Linked DNA regions of Homo sapiens: regions 1, 2, 3, 4, 5 and 7 are each linked to region 6. The links are contacts of gene promoters, found by promoter capture Hi-C in blood cells and fetal thymus (Javierre and others, 2016). All regions are on one chromosome and are shown on one strand. Each heading gives the region's core, a stretch centred on a gene start or on the middle of the fragment in contact. The rest is flanking DNA. Distances are from core to core; before and after follow the strand shown. Region 1 overlaps ASPH (aspartate beta-hydroxylase). Region 2 has its middle 30 kb from the start of MIR4470. Region 3 overlaps ASPH (aspartate beta-hydroxylase). Region 4 overlaps ASPH (aspartate beta-hydroxylase). Region 5 has its middle 19 kb from the start of LINC02842. Region 6 holds the start of GGH (gamma-glutamyl hydrolase). Region 7 overlaps ASPH (aspartate beta-hydroxylase).

The links. Contacts are between HindIII fragments. The CHiCAGO score rates a contact against its expected background, and 5 or more counts as called.
Region 1: a fragment that was not itself captured here is called in contact with the fragment with the promoter of GGH in region 6 in 5 of 17 cell types (naive B cells, monocytes, total B cells and 2 more); the score reaches 11.4 in naive B cells.
Region 2: a contact is called between a fragment that was not itself captured here and the fragment with the promoter of GGH in region 6, in 1 of 17 cell types (naive B cells). The highest score is 5.9, in naive B cells.
Region 3: a fragment that was not itself captured here is called in contact with the fragment with the promoter of GGH in region 6 in 1 of 17 cell types (total B cells); the score reaches 8.0 in total B cells.
Region 4: a fragment that was not itself captured here is called in contact with the fragment with the promoter of GGH in region 6 in 1 of 17 cell types (M0 macrophages); the score reaches 5.3 in M0 macrophages.
Region 5: a fragment that was not itself captured here is called in contact with the fragment with the promoter of GGH in region 6 in 3 of 17 cell types (endothelial precursors, monocytes and total B cells); the score reaches 11.9 in endothelial precursors.
Region 7: a contact is called between a fragment that was not itself captured here and the fragment with the promoter of GGH in region 6, in 4 of 17 cell types (total B cells, monocytes, naive B cells and 1 more). The highest score is 11.5, in total B cells.

The regions. Positions count from the first base shown.
Region 1 is chr8:61,654,328-61,657,027 of GRCh38, forward strand. All of the region lies in intron 3 of ASPH (aspartate beta-hydroxylase), which reads right to left. Among named protein-coding and RNA genes, the nearest start is that of ASPH, 59 kb to the right of the region's middle. The HindIII fragment of the contact is 1,275 bases long and covers 742-2,016 here.
Region 2 is chr8:61,743,360-61,746,059 of GRCh38, forward strand. No RefSeq gene overlaps it. Among named protein-coding and RNA genes, the nearest start is that of MIR4470, 30 kb to the left of the region's middle. The HindIII fragment of the contact is 9,334 bases long and covers 1-2,700 here.
Region 3 is chr8:61,637,778-61,640,477 of GRCh38, forward strand. It overlaps ASPH (aspartate beta-hydroxylase), which reads right to left. Exons shown (of 25, transcript NM_004318.4): 11 at 545-586; 12 at 170-226. Among named protein-coding and RNA genes, the nearest start is that of ASPH, 75 kb to the right of the region's middle. The HindIII fragment of the contact is 289 bases long and covers 1,129-1,417 here.
Region 4 is chr8:61,615,147-61,617,846 of GRCh38, forward strand. All of the region lies in intron 14 of ASPH (aspartate beta-hydroxylase), which reads right to left. Among named protein-coding and RNA genes, the nearest start is that of ASPH, 98 kb to the right of the region's middle. The HindIII fragment of the contact is 5,854 bases long and covers 1-2,700 here.
Region 5 is chr8:61,764,979-61,767,678 of GRCh38, forward strand. No RefSeq gene overlaps it. Among named protein-coding and RNA genes, the nearest start is that of LINC02842, 19 kb to the right of the region's middle. RefSeq lists an enhancer at 2,584-2,700 and a cis regulatory region at 2,649-2,662. The HindIII fragment of the contact is 4,158 bases long and covers 1-2,700 here.
Region 6 is chr8:63,037,497-63,040,196 of GRCh38, forward strand. It overlaps GGH (gamma-glutamyl hydrolase), which reads right to left and starts at 1,310. Exons shown (of 9, transcript NM_003878.3): 1 at 1,164-1,310. The coding sequence starts at 1,272. RefSeq lists a silencer at 1,344-1,703. The HindIII fragment of the contact is 10,760 bases long and covers 1-2,700 here.
Region 7 is chr8:61,681,972-61,684,671 of GRCh38, forward strand. ASPH (aspartate beta-hydroxylase) reads right to left here. Exons shown (of 25, transcript NM_004318.4): 2 at 2,068-2,217. Among named protein-coding and RNA genes, the nearest start is that of ASPH, 31 kb to the right of the region's middle. The HindIII fragment of the contact is 6,282 bases long and covers 1-2,700 here.

The DNA.
Region 1 (2,700 bases), core at 129-2,628, 1.4 Mb before region 6:
TTATTTGATATTTTGTATGTGGAACATTAAAATAGGTCCTCAATTAAATCCAAGTATTTAGAAAACAGCTAAATTCAAGAGTTCAAAGATTCCGTTTGCTGATCCTGGACTCCTCCTGACCTCATTAAGAATCTCCTACCAAGAGTAGTCACTGTGCATGGACAGCCTGCGGCAGGAAGGTCAAGGTGATGTGAAGGGCAGTATTCTAATCTTAAGCAGCTCTGTGCAGCTCATGTATGCACACTAATGTGGTCTGGAAAATTTTCATTTCGATGTATTACTCTTCTTTTTTATTATTTTTCCTATGTCTCTTCATGTTTCTTTTATGGACAAAAACATACTCCCACATTCCTCTTCCCAAATCTTAAAAGAAACAGAGACAGATACACAGGACCCTGCCACATCACTTACATTTCCTCTAGTTACCATTTGCAACACTATTTCCACACAAAACTCACCACTAGTACACCTGACACCAACACATACAGTTGTGTTCTATACCTAAGTTACCTCTAACTGTAAGACAGGCTGCAAAGGGATTATACACAGGTCCTAATTGTAGTTCAAGTTCAGGGAGGAGGGGGTAGAGATGAAGGCCTAGTAAAAGACATCACATTTCAAATTCAAATTTAGGGCTGCCCTCCCTTTTACCATTTAAATAATCATTTTTACATCCCTCAACTGTTAATGGAACAGGTATGGAATGATTCATTGCCAAGTTCTGCTGAATGAATGGGAAAAAGCTTAAGAATCTCAAGAATCAAGTAATTTATCTTTGCACTCTCAGCACCTCAGCTAACACTTGGCACATAGCAATTGCTCAATGAACACTTGTTGAAGGGCTGAATACACCCAGTGGTGTGACTACTCTGCTAAGTCTAAATGGCTGTGGAGATTCCCTGCAGGGCCAGGGCTTCTTAGGTGCACTCCAGTAGCTGAGTAGAAGAGGGAAGGGGACTCACATTAGTACTTCTCTACTCCTATGTACCAGAGATCCGTATTTCTGCTCCAGCATCCACCATTTCAGTGTCATAAGTCTAGTTTGCCTGAGACACTCCCAGTTTATGTCTGCTGTCCTGAGATTATTTCACTCTCAAAACTATCTGTCTGAATGAAAAATTACAGGGTCATCCTTCACTGACCCCACTTTAGCAGGCTCTCAAACTGTGTTCCGTGTGTTATACAAGCAATGAAATGTTTTCTCACCAAACGATAAAGATCTAAACTGCCTGAAAACCCCATTCTTAATGAGTTTTGAAGTTTCATTTGAAAAGTCATAATGCTACGTGTTCAAATACTACTAGTATACCAACATTCCGACATACAATGCCCCTGAGAGTCAGCTTTCTCTAACCAACTTGAACTTATTTGTCTCTAAAATTGAAATTGCAAAACATAGGAAAAACAGGAGAAAGCAAAAGCACAGAGCAAAAAATATTGATTATTTTACCCTGTCCAAAGTGGAAGGTGTATTATAAAATTGTTAATACCTGGTCATAGCTATTTCCAGATATGAAATCAGTACAAAAAAAAATTGTAAACTTCAAAGAAGCTGAGATCATATTACTGTATCTCCTCCTCTAGACCTCTATAAACTTTTTGAAACTTAACAAAAACACATTCTAGACTATAATTGCTTTAACAACCCATATGGAAGAATTTGCCGTACAAGATTTTATTTCAGTGTTTCCAAAAAACTTTTTGCCACCCAAGCTCATTTTAGTTCTAAAATTTGAGGGAAAAAGCAAGCGAAAATGAATCAAGAAAAGTAAATGCATATAAGCTCAATTCAGTCATAGGAAAGGTTTTCAAAAATGGATTTATTATGAGGTACAAGTGGCAATGAAGTAGCAATGAAATAAATATTCAAAATTAGGTTATGACATGAGATGTGTCGGTTTCGATGTTCCTGGGGCTGCAGTTACCAAACTGCCAGCTTATAATGGTTGGGTAGGAAGGAAATTTATCATCTAACTAAACAAGAAGTGCGGAGGCGGCTGACTGCATCGCAGGTCAAGCTTCACCCTCAGGCTGGCAATCAGAGCTCCCCAGCTGCAAGCTTCTTTTTCAGACAAGGCGATGTCCAGAAGCAAAAGGAGCATCTCTTGCTCTGCTTCTTTCTTAGGCTTGAGGAAATTTTTTCCAGAAGCTACCAGCAGTCTCCCTTTTCAGTGTTAATCATCAGGACTGGGACCCACTTCCATTCCTGTGCTGCCAAGAGGAACAGGGTGTCCACAGCCGCCTTCCAGTCATTATGTATGGTGAATAGATACTGCCAGTCCACAGCAATGGCCACAACATGATTTGGAAAACACATTAATTCCCTTAAAACATACCTTGGTTTTAGTTCTTTAGGTTAATCAGATAAATTTGGAAATTATAAAACATTTGCATTTAATCACTATATAATTGCCCCTCCAATTTTAATTAAAATTAGATGAAGCTATGAAATGCAAATGAAATCAGCACTTTAAATCAACCACTCATAGCAAATATGAGTGACACAAATACCCAAGCCCAGGATTAGCTTACTTTATTCACTGCTGCCCATAATGAGAAAGAATCAATATATTTCTTTCCATAAATATGCAGTAGTTGTAAACTTACTAAATTGTATGTTGTATTTAATCGTTCAACAAATATTTAGCACCTATTAATTCAAGGCATTATTCTACAGTAAATGAAAACAACACACCTACC
Region 2 (2,700 bases), core at 110-2,609, 1.3 Mb before region 6:
GTTAAAGAACTGCAATAGCAAAATGGGCACAGTTAGAAAATAGAGATAGTGTGCAGAAAGCAGCTATCCCTGCTGGGATTTAATAGTCCAAAAGGAAGAGTTTGTGATTCTTAGAACCTAAGAGCTTGAAGGAAAGGCCCATCACAGTGGGGACCTAGACCTCACAGGAAGGGGTACCACAGGATTGGTGCTGATTCCTCTGAAGGAGTGCAATGAGGCTAGCATTGGGAGCATGGAAAAAACTAGCAACCAGAACAACTACTATTGTAAACAAGACCATTGCTGTACCTAAGCTCCTTGCTGGAGTGACCCTAACAGAGTGAACAGGAAGGAGCATGTGCCTGGTCCTTCTCAAACTTCTAGTCTCCCTCTAGGGCCTCCTGCTCATGAGACATCATAGAGCACAGTATGACAAAGGAGATGCGGGGTTTGTTGAGTCCCACCCTGACATCACAAAGCAGAGTACAAAAGAGTGGGTTTGTAGTCCCCCAAATAGCTTGATATCCAGCACCAATGTTTAAGCAATATGTGTATATTACTTAAAAATAAATATTGATCCCTACCACATTATACACAAAAATCTATGCCAGACAGATTTTTAAATGTAATTAGGAAAGGCAAAACATAATTTATCTAGAAGAAAACATAGACAATATAGGAGAATAGCTTTGAGAGAGGAGAAGAGAGAGAGAGCGCGCGCACGCACACAACAGCAACAAAAAGTTAACAAATAATGAATCTAGGTGAAGGGCATATTGGTATTTATCATACTATTTTTCAACTTTTGGTAGTTTGAAAAATTTTAAAACATTTGAAGCAAAATAAGCAAAAGAACACTGATCAATGACAATGAAAAAAATACAGTAGTATCCATTCCCATGTTCTAAATTACTTTCCAGCCTGATGGACACCTGGAGACATTGGTAAACATGTTTGTTCAACACCAGTATGACTTTACTTTGCCTCAAAATTAGCATGAAAGTTTTCTTTGCCAGTACGAAATAATTCAAAGTTCAAAAACAATTTGATAGTCTAAATTCTAATGGGAGGCGGTATTCATTCAATTTTTTAGAAATATGTATAAGATGAGCCAGGCACGGTGGCTCACGCTTGTAATCCCAGCACTTTGGGAGGCTGAGGCAGGCAGATTGCCTGAGCTCGGGAGTTCGAAACCAGCCTGGGCAACATGGCGAAACCTCGTCTCTACTAAAAATACAAAAAATTAGCTGGGCGTGGTGGCTGGCGCCTGTAATCCCAGCTACTCGGGAGGCTGAGGCAGGAGAATAGCTTGAACCCGGGAGGCGGAGGTTGCAGTGAGCCGAGATCACACCACTGCACTCCAGCCTAGACGACAGAGCAAGACCCCGTCTCAAAAAAAAAAAAAAAAAAAAAATTTGTATAAGATGATTTAATTTGACTATTTCTAGGGCTGGTCCATTTACTTAGTATTACATTTAAATTAATACCAGCATGGGGGCCAAGAATGATTTTAAAATATATTAAACATTTGTATTGTCTAAGATAAGTCAAAAGAAAACGCAATCAAAAGTAACAAATTCTTTAAAAGGCTCTTTCTCTACTTATCTTTGTCTCTTACACATTTTACAGCTTCAAAAATCTTTCTTTAAATGTGAAACCTCCCTTACTGCTCAGCTCCAACACAGACTCACTTCTCCCCATGTAGTTTCTTATATTTTAAAATCCATTTTTTTCCTTACTTACTATTTGTTTTTATTTTCAATCTAAATCCTACCTCCCAGCTTCTGGCTTGTCCTTATTTTTAAATTCTTTTTACTTTTGTTCAGTTAAGATAAGGTAACTGCTGTAACAAAGGGACCCAAAAATCCAGGGGCTTCAAGAAAAAAGATTTTTTTTTTCTTTCTCATGTTAACAACTCCAAGGCAGATGCTCTAGCTTCATGATTCAGCTCTGCTCCATGTGGTCACTTCACAATCCAGGCATTTTCTGTTTTAGAGCTCCACAATTCCCTAAAGTATTGTCATCATCTGCATGGTTAAGGTTTGATTACTTTGGATTCCAGCAAACATAAAGGAGGAAAGTAGGATATTGAGGAGGCAGCCCACAAGTGACAAATATAACTTCAACTTGTGAGAACTTCGTCACATGGCCACACTTAAAATATAAGGGAGCCTGAGAAATGTGGTCTAGCTATGTATCTGATAACAAGGGATGAATAATGAGTAGCTTTGTTGGATAACCAAAAATTTCCCCAGACTACTCATTATTCTTCAATTTAAAAAAAAAAACTTTGAAGATTAGAAAGGAAGGGCCATGTGTATGTTTTGGGGATGTCTAGTGTTATGGCTGTGAATAGGTTAATACTGCTGTTTTTCTTGTCTGCAGATGCTTTTTATGTACATTAAACTGCTCAGTTCAATAAATACTTCTTGACTATCTGCTATGTGCTAGGCACAATGTTAGTGTATTCATCCATTTTCTTTCTTTTTTAAAAACATTTTTATAGATTCAGGTGGTACACATGCAGGTTTGTTACATGAATATATTACATAATGGTGTGGTTTGGGCTTTATTAGTCCATTTTCTGTTGCTACAACAGAGTAACACAGAGTGAGGAATTTATACAGAAAAGAGATTTATCTATTGCTCATTGTTCTGGAGGTTGGGAATTCCATGATCAGGGGCTGCCTCTGGTGAGGGCCTTCCTGCTGCATTATGACA
Region 3 (2,700 bases), core at 23-2,522, 1.4 Mb before region 6:
ACTGGAATGCCAGCCCCAATGAAAAGAGGACTCTGTGTTTTCTTCCCTCTTGTACTCCTAGCTCCTATGCACTGTATAGACAGCAAGTAGGAAATGTTCGATAAATAACTGAATAAACAAACACAATTCTCATATGGAAGGTAAAACCACTTCCATAAATTTATCTTACCTTCTACAATTACCTGTGAATCTTCTACAGGATTATCCTCAGGGGGAGCAGTTACTTCTAAAATAAAGAATAAAATCAGAATCCATTACATGTTGCTGACCAGTGACACATCTTACATTCACTCGCCTTCATTCAGATTCCTAAATTAACTCGTGTCCACTCAGATTGCTAAATTTGACTCTTTTTAAACTGGGTCTTCTGCAGAGTATTTATATTAGAATATTAACTTTAATTTTGATACTCAATTATTTTCTTACTGACTTGAAAATGTCTTGCATTTTTTCTACACTGACTCTTTGTTCCACAGGTAGGAGTTTTAACAAAATACAGGGAAAGCTGACTTGCAGAAAATATGTGCTTACAGAAAAAACTTACCTGTGATTTCTATCCCTTCATTTTCTAGAGGTTCATATACTGCTAAAAAAAAAAAAACAGAAACAAAATCCCGTAACTTTCATTGTAACACAAAAACTGACAACATGCTTTAAGGGCAGAGACAATGCCTTATGCATCTTTGAACCTGCAAGGTTCAGTCACTGGGAAACAGCCGACTAGAGAGTAGGGTGGAGAAGAGTTTGGTCTAGGGTAAAACAGGCCTGGATTCTAATTCCAGGGCAGCCACTTTTTACTACCTTTTTAAAATTTTACTACCTTTTTAAAATTTTCTTCATGTCTGTGGTGGAGGTTTTGAATTAGCCGAAGCTGTACCCTGGGAATCAACTGGATCCTGGTGTTCATGGGCAGATTCCCTGCTTTGTTTAGGAAACAATTCTCAGACCTCTAACCTGGGGCCAAACACCTCTGCCGCCAGCCCCTGAGAATGAAGCGTTCCCCACCCTAATTAGGGCGTGCTGCCCTTGCCTCCCTCATTTGCTGGCATGAGGCTCAGTGCTTCTTCTCTGCTCTGCTGCAAGGAAGTCTCATCTCCACACAGGCCTCTCCAGGGCCCAGTGGCTCAAAGCTTCCTCAGTCAACCTGATCTTCCAAAATACCTCCAATTTTCTGGCACACTACAAGAAAACATCCTTCTTTTTCCCAGCATGGTTGTAAGTTTATTCTTTCTTATTCATTTAATAAAGAAAAATTATTGAGCACCTACTATCTTTCAGACACTCTCAGTATTGGGGTACAGCAGGGAACAATGTTTAATAGGTCGTTTTGTCCTTTTGGGGCATTTGAAAGATGAAGGAGCAGTGAATGTGTGCTCACTCTGTTGCCCTGAGCAGTGTCAGCATTTAAACATGCTCAAGCTTCTAAGAACTTAAAAATGCAATACCACTCTTTCTTAAGCTTGCTTCTCGTCACCCTCTCTTTCTTCCATTGAACAATCTAATTTCTTCAGTCATTTACATCTCATGGCTCATCTCTTCCTCTCCCCTCAACTCACTCCCGCCTGTCTTCAGACCCTGACCCCATCCCTGAAAAGGCTCCTGCTGAGACCCCCTCCAGTGCCTCATTTGATATGATGGACACTCGCCAGCCCTCGCTATATTTTTAGCAACACCATTCTTCTCCAAACACTGTTGCCCCTGGACTTCAGGGTGACCATACTCTCCCCTTTGGTTTTTCGTTTCTCCCACTCAATCTTCTTTTTCACTTCATCTTTTTCTTAGCCGTCCTTAAATGCTGGCTTTCTTCAAAGTCCAGCCATAGAACCACCTCATGTCTCCCTCAATCTGCTCTCCTTAAGGGATCTCAGAGCTTGGTCCTGATGACCACGTAACTACTCTGATGGTTCCCACACTCACAATCACGAAGTAGACTTCTCTTCTGAGAGTCAAACACCACCAAATGGCTCATTTGATCTCTCCTCTCAGATGCCTCAAAGAAATCTCACTATCATCATGTAAAGAACTGGACTCATGAGCCCCTGCCCCGTGCTTGACTCCAGTCTCTCCCACGTTAGGAAAAGAGCACCCCCTGTCACCAGGCTGCAGAAGCAGAAGAGTGTATGTGGCTCTTGGCACCTTGTTGTCTCCCCCCAGCTACACCCATGCATGAAGACCTGCCAATTTTACCTTCTAAGCATTTCTCAACTTTGCCCACTTCCCTCCTCCATCATTGCCACCACCCTTGGTTTAAACTATCATATCTGTCCTATCCGTCCACTGAAACAGTTCCAGCTAAAGTCACCCGTTGAGGCCACTGCAGCGCCAGATCAGGGCAGGTTTTCAGCACTCATCTCACATGGTTCTCAGTAGCGCAGGGCACCACTGAACATCCCTTTCTTGAAACTCATCTCCTTTGGTTCCTTCAGACAGAGAGAGATGTGATGCACGGAAAGACCCAATTTGGATGATTACAGCTAACTTAACTGTTCTCCCTGTATTGACTCTTGTCTCTCCAGTCTGTTTGTTGCATGCCAGACCGATCAATCTTTTCAAAATGCAGATCTGACTTGGCAGTGCTCAAAGGTGAAGATGAACGTCCTTGATCTTGCTCACAGGCATCCTCTGAACCCAGCCCATTTCACCACCTCAGCCTTACTCTTGCAAGTTCACGTCAGAGACCTCATACGACTCTCCAGTCAC
Region 4 (2,700 bases), core at 45-2,544, 1.4 Mb before region 6:
CCTGCACTCTCCCCTCATACCTTCTTTACCAGCAATCGCCTCCTTGTTAGGCCTCAAACATGCTAAGCACACATGCCCTGAGGACCATGAGAATGCTCCCCAAGTCTCGGAACTCTTCTCCCAGACGCCGGTGCAACTCCTGCCCTTGCCTCTTCAAATCTCTGCTTAAATGTCACCATCCAAGAGGCCTATTACACAGCAACACCTCCTGCTCATTCTGTTTTCCTTTCCTGTCTTATATTCCTTTTCACACTTCACACTGCCTCTTATATTTTAATTTTTTAAAACTACATATCCAGCCCCACTCTCTCCCCTATACACACTAAAAAGCAAGTACAATGAGAGCTGCAACTGTTTTATTGACTGTTTTGGGCCCAGTGCCTAAAACAGAGCCTGGACATCATAAGTACTCACTATGTACTCAATAAATGGATGAACACGAATGACTGTTTGAATTTGACATTTAACAAGCCATTTTTGTATTGGATTATTTTGTAGTTCACACATTTTGTGACCATGGGCTATGGAATATGTGGGAAAAGATGACATCCAGTGGGGAGAAACTGATATCGCAATTTTATCTAAAACATAAAAATAATCTGATTTGACTCAAGTAACAGATGTCTGCAAATGAGGGCCTATTTTGCCTTAAAAAAATTTCAGTTTCTGTTATTATGAAACTAAAGTCTGATGAGTGAAGGCCATTCCATTTTTTTACTACATATTCTGGATATGTAATGTTTACATAATGTTTCCCTTTCCCTTTTCCTTACCAGATAACAGTATCATATGAATCGATTTGAATAAAAAATACATGGAATTTCCACAGCTCACAATTTGCTCCAATAGATTTTTAATAAATCTGTGATGACATTGATTCATTATTTCTTTTAATTCTGTCTATTCCTGCATTTCCCCCTTAATAAAATACTTTAGTTACAAACATATTTTGGTTGGTACTGATCTAAAGTGCTAATTTTAAATGGGGGGAGAGTGACAAACCAGTCAACAGAAGCCGTTGCAATGATTTTCTTTGCAGGTTCCAGAGGTTCCAGCCTCTACACTTCCCTGGCAAACCCCCTTTAGGATCAGCATCCCTGGAGGTCAGACCTGTGCACCGAGGATACCCGACAGTGCAGGGGAAGGTACGGGCTGCTAAGACTAGAATGGGAGGTCTGGAGCATGAGAGGCAGAGATATGAGGAGCTCACAATTGCAACTGCCCTGTGAGCAGCAGATTTGGGGCAGGTTTGCAAGTGTTTCTGTTTATCTGCAACAAGCCATGCCCACCATTCGGACTCCCTGTCCCTCTCTTTGTAAGAATGCATTATAGTGAACCTCCCAGAAGCAAACCAGTCAATGTGTAAATGAGAAAGGGCTCTGTTTGGTACACAGATGTGCATGGGCTGGGTACGGTGTCCACAGCATGAAGAAAAGTCCAGACTCCCACTGTGGTCTAGTCTTTGACTTTCTCTAACTGTATCTTACACACTCTAGGCTTGTTCAGGTGCTCCAGCTTCTTGGGCCCTTCTCTCTTGTCTCAGGACTTTTGTACAAACTGTTCCTCTGCTCAGAGTGCTTAGGTTTCCCTAACCTCCTGGGACACCTTCTTCCCTAATTCACCACCCCTTCTGCCTACGGCATGCTCTCCTGCTTTGTTTCCTCAGAACTCTTACCACAATTTCAGTCTGTGTGTGTACTGCTGGTCTCCCTACTGGGATGTGAGTTCCCTGAAACAGGAACCTGGTCTGTCTTGCTCTCACCTGCAACCACTTGTCTAGAACAATTCCTGGCATGTAGTTGGCACACTAATTTTAAGGGGATGAAGTGTGTTTTGAGGGGGAAAGATCAGGAGTCGGTTTTAGACTTGTTAAGTTTGAAGTGATTATTACACATCCAACACATTGAAGTTATCAGGCAGACAACATGTAGACAGCTGGACACACCAGTCTAGAGTGCAGGCAAAAGACCCAGGCTGTGAGTAAATTTGGCAATCTGTGGCATACAGAGGCATTTAAAGCCATGAGATTAGATGAGATCATTAAGAGAGTGCGTGTATATGGGGAAATGCTCCGAGGACTAAGTCTGGGGCACTCCGGTGATTAATGGTCAAGGAGATGAGAAACATCCATCCAAAGAGCCTGAGAAAAGCAAACAGTAGAGAGCAGGAGAAAGACCAAGAGAATGTATCCAGCAAGCCATGTGAAGGGAGTGTTTGAAGGACAGGAAGTGATCAACTCTATCAAAAGCTGCTGATTTGCCCCTTCTTGCCTTGTGTTTTCTCATTAGCAGGTATCGCTATCTTATTTATAGTTATGTCCTAAATATATCGGAAGATCCAGGAAGTAAGGCAGCGGAGAGCTTGTGAGAGTATGATGATCGAGCTAATCTCACCGATCTATAAAACAGAGTCAGCCAACGGTTTCTGATATTAAGGAGAAAACTGCAGCATTATACAAATTATTTAGAAATGCATAACTAAGTACTAGAAAGAAACAGCTAAGGCCAGGCACGGTGGTTCATGCCTGTAACCTCAGCACTTTGGGAGGCCGAGGTGGGAGGATTACAACAAGGCCAGGAGTTTGAGACCAGCCTGGCCAACATGGTGAAACCCTGTCTCTACTTAAAAAATACAAAAATTAGTTGGCGTGGTGGCATGTGTCTGTAATCCCAGCTACTCGGGAGGCTGAGGCAGGAGAAT
Region 5 (2,700 bases), core at 25-2,524, 1.3 Mb before region 6:
CTTTTAGATATTTAATATTGTGAATACTTATTTAACAGATCATAAGGGCTTAATGTGTTGGTAAACTTTGTAATTTCTGGATCTTTGGTTAGCTTTAAGACCTTAGACTAATATAAAATTAAGCTAATTAATAAAAGGTATATGTATACCACAACTATTTCTAAATAAAAATAAAATGTTTAAATATCATTCAAGAAACATTATTTTGGGTTTTACTCATTTCCAATCTTTACAAAATACTACAGACTAATAGGGCATTTGAATGCCTTTGAATTATATATATATCTGAATGTGTTTATCTCAAGTTTATTAAAATGCAGTATAAAATGTGTACTCATGGAAAAAATCTAAGTAGATATTGCTTCTAGTTTCCTTGTGGCCAGGAAAACAAAAGTTGATTAGTTAAAGGTGGTAATTAATATAAATGTTTGAGATGACACTAAGTACTATAATTACAGAGTAAGACAAATGAGTATACAAGATGATAATATATTTTGTCTGTTTTCTTCTTAAAGGAATTATTATAATTTATTAAAATGGAAAATCCCATTAGGCAAATACTATATATTTTAAAATTTAGCATGCTGACAGTTAACTGCATTTTAGAGCTAAACTTAATAATTTTATTATCTGTTTGCTTAGTTATATATTCATGTATGTTTAAATGCATAAATACAAGAATATCTTTATATTACTTTTAAAAGTGAATAAATAATGAATAAGATAATGAAAGACAAAATTGAGGACACTCTGTGAATATAAGAGACCTAAAGAAAATGATGTTACGGGTTTCTAATACCAAAGATGACGTAATAATCTCCTAATGGCCTCCCCTCCTAATGCCCCCACATTGGGGGTTAAGATTTCAGCATATACATTTTTGTCTAATACAAACATTCAGTCTGTAACAACCTCTAAGGCATTTCATCTGTCATTCATAGACGGCTCTGCTGCAGTGTCTTTGGGCATGGAAAGGCCGTTGAAGTTGTTTATTCTCATCTCCCTGGCACTTCATTGTTAGAAAATTAGAACTTGGAAGCTCAGAGAGGTGACGTGATTAGCCTAAGGTCACAAAGCTATTTCATAAGAAGGATAGGGCTAAAACTGTTTAGTCACTTTATACTCTTACCACTGAGTTCCTTTGACATTGGAGGGGAGAAAATTTTACTCATAAAACTCAGTCTTGGTGAACATTGAAAATAATACTTTTAGAGGGAAAGGGCCTTTAAATCAGGCTTATTACACTGTTTGTGGTCAAGTAATATAGGAAGGAAGTAGGTTTTTTTAGATGTCTGAAAATTTAGTGGTGATCAGCTATAATATAGATACATTGAGATTTTACTTTCTAACATTCTACCTTCATGTCTTCAACTTTTATAAACCCAATAAAATAAATGAACAATGGAGGCTACCCATTTAAGCTGGGTTTTTTTCAACCCCATTTGAAATTTAAGCTGGGTTTTCTTCAACCCCATTTGAAAATCTTAGAAGAAATATCAACAGGGTGATTCCATAAATACTCAGTTTTACCTTCAAAATGGAGAATTAATTCAAACAAATTGTGTAAACGTGTTTCTTTTTGAGAGTTTCATATTGATTAATTCATGAAATGGTTATAAACAAACCTTTTTTTTAGCAGTTTGTGCTGCTTTTATGAATGCTATTTCATTTCATAATGCTTAAAATAATAAATTTATGAGGCATTAGCTCTGAAGGCCATGTTAATAATTCCCTGTGTTAAATTCCTGACTTTATTGATGAGGAAAGAGGATCAGAGAAAGTGAAGGACTCACCTATAGTTACCAGTGCATAAATGGAAGAGCTATGTTTGTATCCAGGCTTTACTTCAAATCTGGCCCTCTGTCCATTGCATCAGAACCCATGAACTGACCCAATTCAAACAACTCTCATTTAGTTCCATATGGTGTTACATGTGATCTATTTTTTAAGCAGACTATGATACAATAAAAATGCTGATTCCAAATAATATGTCTTACAAAGTAGCATCCTTTCCAGAAGAGAATGCCTCTCTCTCCACAGTATCAAACAGCTTCTGGTGGAGCTTCCACAGTAAGTGTGACCTCTGGAGACACAACATAGAGTCTGCTGGCTAGAGAAGATATAGGATCCTAAAACTCTTATTATCTGTGACTGTGAGAGACTTGAAACTTCTCCTTCACCTAAGATTCTTTTCCAACCTCGTAAGTACTTGACTAAGATATATTTGTGTGATGACTTTGTCCAGCTGAAGTAATCTAAAAACCTTGATGGGCTGGAAATGGTGAATTTTTCTTCTGTTGGTGACTAATGCAGTGAGCAGGCAGTTTTTCTAGTTCTTTTAAGGCAGCATCAGCCTAAAAGGTCACGGACAGGCATTAGCAATGCGAGAGTACACAGAAGTTAATTTCAAAACAAATAAAGTGGATGGAGCAATTCAACAACTGTGCATTCTGAAATGCAAGTAAATGACTTATATGCTCAAGTGATTTGAAGCATAAGTATTGATGACTTGTGTGGCTTTTAACCATATCTGGGAAACTCTCATGTGAGTATTTAATCCATTCATACACAGCAATTATCTTCTATAATACCCTAATGAGTGACTAGGCAGTGAAGTGTAGTGGAAAGAATGCTTTTCTTGGTTTAAGAGTTAAATATTAATAGTTGAAAAAAGACTTTTCCTGAGAGTCACCTGGTGGG
Region 6 (2,700 bases), core at 60-2,559:
AATTCCACCAATAATTTAAGGCCATCTCACAACTTTTGTGGCTTGTCATCTTTCAATCCTTTGCACTTCCCAGAGCAAGATTGTGTACATAGTCGGTACTCAGTTAACGATGTTGTGCTGATCTCAGTGACCAAAAGCAAAGTCCCTTTTTTAAATATTTGACGCAGGGCTACCCCTGATTCTAGGAAAGGGGAAGAATCCCCTCTGCTTTTTTTTCTCTTCTCTGGACACACAATATGCAACCTGTTACATTAATTACAGCTTGAGTTAATTCGTGGAGAATCAAATCACCATGTTAAACAGCTATGAAATAAGTTCCAAATATTAGTAAGCAACCCATTTGAAAACTGGGCACTACCTATATGAAAAAACATTCATCTACTTTCTGTTTAGTTACAGAATACAGTGATAATATTCATAGAAAAAAATAGTATGAAAGGCATAATCCTACAGCCAAAATAAAACTAATCTTAATGTCCACACACAAATTTCTTTGGGCAAATTTTAACCCCAGGATGATTTCTCCTAGGTAGCTTTCCTTGGGCCTGTCTCAAATGTGTGTTTTGGTAACACAGACTGATTTTACTACCTCTTTAAAACACAAATATGTTGGAAACGAAAAATTGTGGGCTGCATTTTAACACCAAATAGAACTCACATTAGGATATCAGCCACTGTTGTCCTCTGCTACTGAACATGACAAAATCCAAGTTATACCTTAATTTCTTGATTTTCTATTACAATGCACTGGTATTTTAAATACGCCATCAATACATTTTGATGAATGCAATGCATGTACAGAATTTGTAGATGTAAATGAGTAAAACTTCCCAACTATGTGCGAAAAGGAAATGTTTTATTTTAGTAGAAATTCCTAGCTGTGTACAAAAAAAGAAAATCCGCAGGATTCTTCATGGTGCACCCTCCTCCCTCCCACCTTTAAGAGTCATATGAGTCTAAAGGAATGAACGAGGTACCTCAACCAGGTACATTTCAGTACGACCTAAATGGTGCCCAGCCCGGGTTCCTCCTTGCACCAAAAGCGAAGCACATCTGGGGGTTTTTCCCGGCGGGACGCGCCAGCTGGAGCGCGGCGGCGGGAGGCGCCCAGCGCCAACACCCAGCTCCTCCCCGTCTGCTGCGGCCCCGCACAGCCTCCTTACCGATGATGGGCTTCTTGGCGGTGTCGCCGTGGGGTCTAGACAGCTCGAGGCTCGCCGCCCCGCAGAGTAGCAGGCCCAGCACGCACAGCAGGCAGCCCGGACTGGCCATGGCGCTCGCCGCCTCCCGCCGCCTTTCAAAAGCTCTGCGGGCGGGCGGGGGCTGCGGCAGGGACACCTCGCGGCAGCGCACTCGCGTGAGACTCGGGTGGGCGGTGCTCCGCAGCGTGGGCCTATGGGAAATGCAGTCCCGGCGCGCGCTAGGCGGCCGTGGGGCGGCGGTGGGAGGCTCTGGGAGTGCAGCCGGCGCTGCGCGCCCGCCCCATTGCTCTGTCCCCGGTCCGCGACCGCGACCGCGACCCCGACCCCCACGGGCCGCCTAAGCGGAGACTCTGGAAACGCCTGGGGCGGGTACCGGGTGGTCTCCGCGTCCTTCCCTTTCAACTGTTACGTCGATGTGGACTTCAGTCACCCGTACAAAGCTGGGCTGGCCAACCCAGGTCCTCGAGAGGGGAGGTTGGGTGTCCCCGGCCGAGTTTGGTAACCAGGCAGCGGGGAGGCTGGCAGGGGATTCTAGAAGGCGCCTGAGAACTGCGCGCCAACCGCACCGCCCCCTTGAAGGTCGGGGCCCTATCTCCGGGAATGGTGACAACGTTCGCTGTACGGACAGCCTGTGCCCCTGAATGTGAATGTCCACACTTGCTATTTGGGGGGTCGCGGCATCTGTAGGAAGTGAAGACGGGACGGCGATAGGAACACACGCACAGGCGCATCACTAGGGTCAGAACTGGGCCAACTCCGGGCGTCTACTTTGAAGCGGGCACGCCCAGGCCACGCCTGCAAACGGCGTCAGCTTCCTCTGATCAACCGCGGTCAGCGCCATCCACCGACCACCACTAAGCCTATCCACCGGGGCAGAAAAGATGACTGGTTCCTATTCGTTAAAACTGTTGATTGTTCCTAAATACATGGATATATAGCTTGTACTCAGTGAAAGTTTCCATCTATAAGGGCCAACTGAAATTCAGCATAAAACAAGAATATTTGAAAACCTGCTACATCAATGCTCAGTATTAAGGGTGAAAACGTAAATTGGACAGTCTTTTTCACAAGAGGTTTAAATTCAGTAAGGAAAAAAGGCAGAAAGCGTGACTCGTAGAGACAACAGGAACAATTTTAGCATGTTGCAAGAAGAGTAAATGCAGTGAATAGTCTGGTTTAACAAGAAAATAACGCTTCTGTAGAAGGGTGTGGTGAGAGGTAAGCAACAAAGGATGTGATGAAAGACATGAAAGGGCCGAGCTGGTTTTGAGCATGATTAAATAGACAAGTAGCCTTGTAAATATGAACTTGTGGTGCCAGAATAATTGACTATCCACATAGGAAAAATTTTTTACCCGGCGTTACACACAAAAATAAACTCGAGGTGAAGTGCATATGTAAATACGAAAGCAAAATATTATACTTTGATAAGAAAATATATAAATATATCTTCCTAACTTAGGCTGTTGGAAGAGTTTCATAAAACATTAAAAATAAA
Region 7 (2,700 bases), core at 103-2,602, 1.4 Mb before region 6:
CAAATACAGCATTAGTACTAAAAAAAAATTTTGGCAATTGTTATCATTTCTTTAACACAAAGTACATTAAAAAATTACAGAAGAACAGGCAGAAATTTTGGCTCAGATTAGTTCTGATCAATCTTTATCTCCCCAGAGCCCTTGCTCTACCTAGGAAAATGGTTAACTTGCTATATAGAAGTCTGACTTAGCAAACACATACACATTTAAAATGATTATGATGAAAGAAGAGATAAGGATGTTATTTCAACTGCTAAGAAAACAAAAAGTACTAATCAAGGCTATGCAGAGTACAGAATTCAAGAAACAGTAAAAGATAGAAAATACTACCCTTTCTGACAAACCCATAATGGGAAATTGGTCCTATCACTTATATTCTGATGTAGATAATAATTAAATTAGTAGAAAAAGGATGAGCCATTAGAGAGTAACACACGTAGACTTGAAATGCAACTCCAATAGCCTACCTTGAAGCACCTCTGATAAGTTATAACGGAAGTCCTTTGCTTTGGCTGCATGCATGTAAAAACATGAAAACTGTTATTTGTGCTTAAAGGTACAAATACTTAAAGTGTCCTCTTTTAAGATACATTCCCTAACAACATATCACTGTAAGTCAGTCAAAGCATAGATCTACTCAGAAATTTGTCTCCAGACTAAAATTCTCCCTCAGTTGGTCTGTCAATCTATCCAGAGACACTTTCTTTAAAGTAATGAAAATGAAAAACTTCAATGAAAGACAGATTACAAATAAGCATATTTTGTTATTCCTACAGCCAAAAATTTGTTTGCCCTTTCTCCCCAAAAATATGTCTATAATTTGACAAGTAAAGCAGAAGCACAGGAAGTCCAATGCAAGGGGATATCACCCATGCAACATTGTACATAGACACAAGTGTGCATTTTTTCCAGTGACAGGTCCACATCTTTCACTGGATTACTAAAGAGGAGGACCATTATTCACAACAGCCAAAAAGTGGAAACAACCCAAATGTCCATCACTGATAAACAGATAACCAAAATGTGGTGTGCCCATATGATGGAATATTATGCAGCCATAAAATGAAGTACTGAACTTTAAAAACATTATGCTAAGTGCAAAAAGGCAGATACAAAAGATCATATAATGTATGGTTCCATTACATGAAATGCCCAGAATAAACAAAAGCACAGACACAGAAAGTAGATTAGTGTTTCCCAGGAGAGGGAAAGAGGAAGAGTTTGGGTATTTAGGGGAAGGGGGTAACAAAAATAATCTGGAACTAGATAATGCTGATGGGTATATAAAATGATGAATATAGTAAAAAAAAACTGAATTGTACACATTCAAATATATATAATATTGAATTTTATTTCAGTTTAAAAAAAGATTTTTGGGGAAGTGAAGGAGAATGTGACTCCAAAAATAACAAAGAATCATTAATGTAAAAAATCATGAAAAACTTCAGTGATTACAGAAAAGGAAAAAGGTGGAGAAAGGACACTATCAGAAGGACCACAGCAACTTCCTCAGAACAGCACACAGATCACACCTACACACACACAATAATATCTACAAACGCCTATCTCAGCACACCCATCCAGTACCTATATGTGTGCACACGTACTCATCCCATCCCAACAGAGACACAGAAGGGTGTACTTTGAAAACCCTCTCTAAGGAAGAGTTTTGCATATTGTGTGGTTATGATCCATTAGCAAGTCCTTAAATAAATGTAATGGCTCATGATCAAGTATTTTTAAAATTTATAATATAACAAAATTGAATAGAAATCAAAAAGTACTGCATATAGTGAGAATGAGTACTGTTTGATAAAACTTCTCCCTGTGTGACAGACATACAATATAAAGCCTTTTTTCAAAAACCTACAGGTCACATTTAAAGAGTTCAAAAGACAATACTCCAAGGTAACCTTCTTCATATCCCCTTTCAGCCTCACTCTATTGAGAACCACTGAAAGGCTATAGAAATTACCAGTACCAGAAAGATGATAACAAATATTCAAGACTCCTAAGAGATGTCACTTACTCTCTTACAAATTCACATAAGGATATCAAAATTCTTACCTAGAACTTCCTCATAGTCAACAAGATCAAACCAAACGACAGCTACAGATGTCCAGACGCCCAGCAATGCAATCACCATAAACCACGTGAAGAATGAAGTTCCTGAGAGTCCGCCTTTCCTCCCATTCTTGTGTCCTCCATGCTTTGTCTCTGTTTAGAAATAAATGTAAGATATCATAAGAAGAAAACATTTTACTGAACACTTATTCTCACAATTATTTCTCCAATAATTTGGGATTATGTACAATGATAGATCATTTCAAAAACAGTTTCCAGTTAAATTCTCAAAACACGTCACACAAAATATTTCTGAAAACAGAAAAGATTGTTTAGATGCAACACTAACTTTGAAGTAGTGCAGGAAATAAACTCCTGAATTTTTTTAAAGATTTAGTATAATATGTATATTCCATCCAAGTTACTCATCAAAATGACCTGAATATTACCTCTTTCCAAAGGCAGAGCACATAAACAACTTAATGAAATCACATAAAAATGTAGCCAAATCCTTTTCTCCGTCCCATTTCATTTCTGCAGAATCTTAAAAACTCTGTTAACACACAGAAGAAAATATCTCCCCCTAAACCATTCCATATTCTTAGCCAGAGAGAAAAGGACAGAAAAGTGAAACAG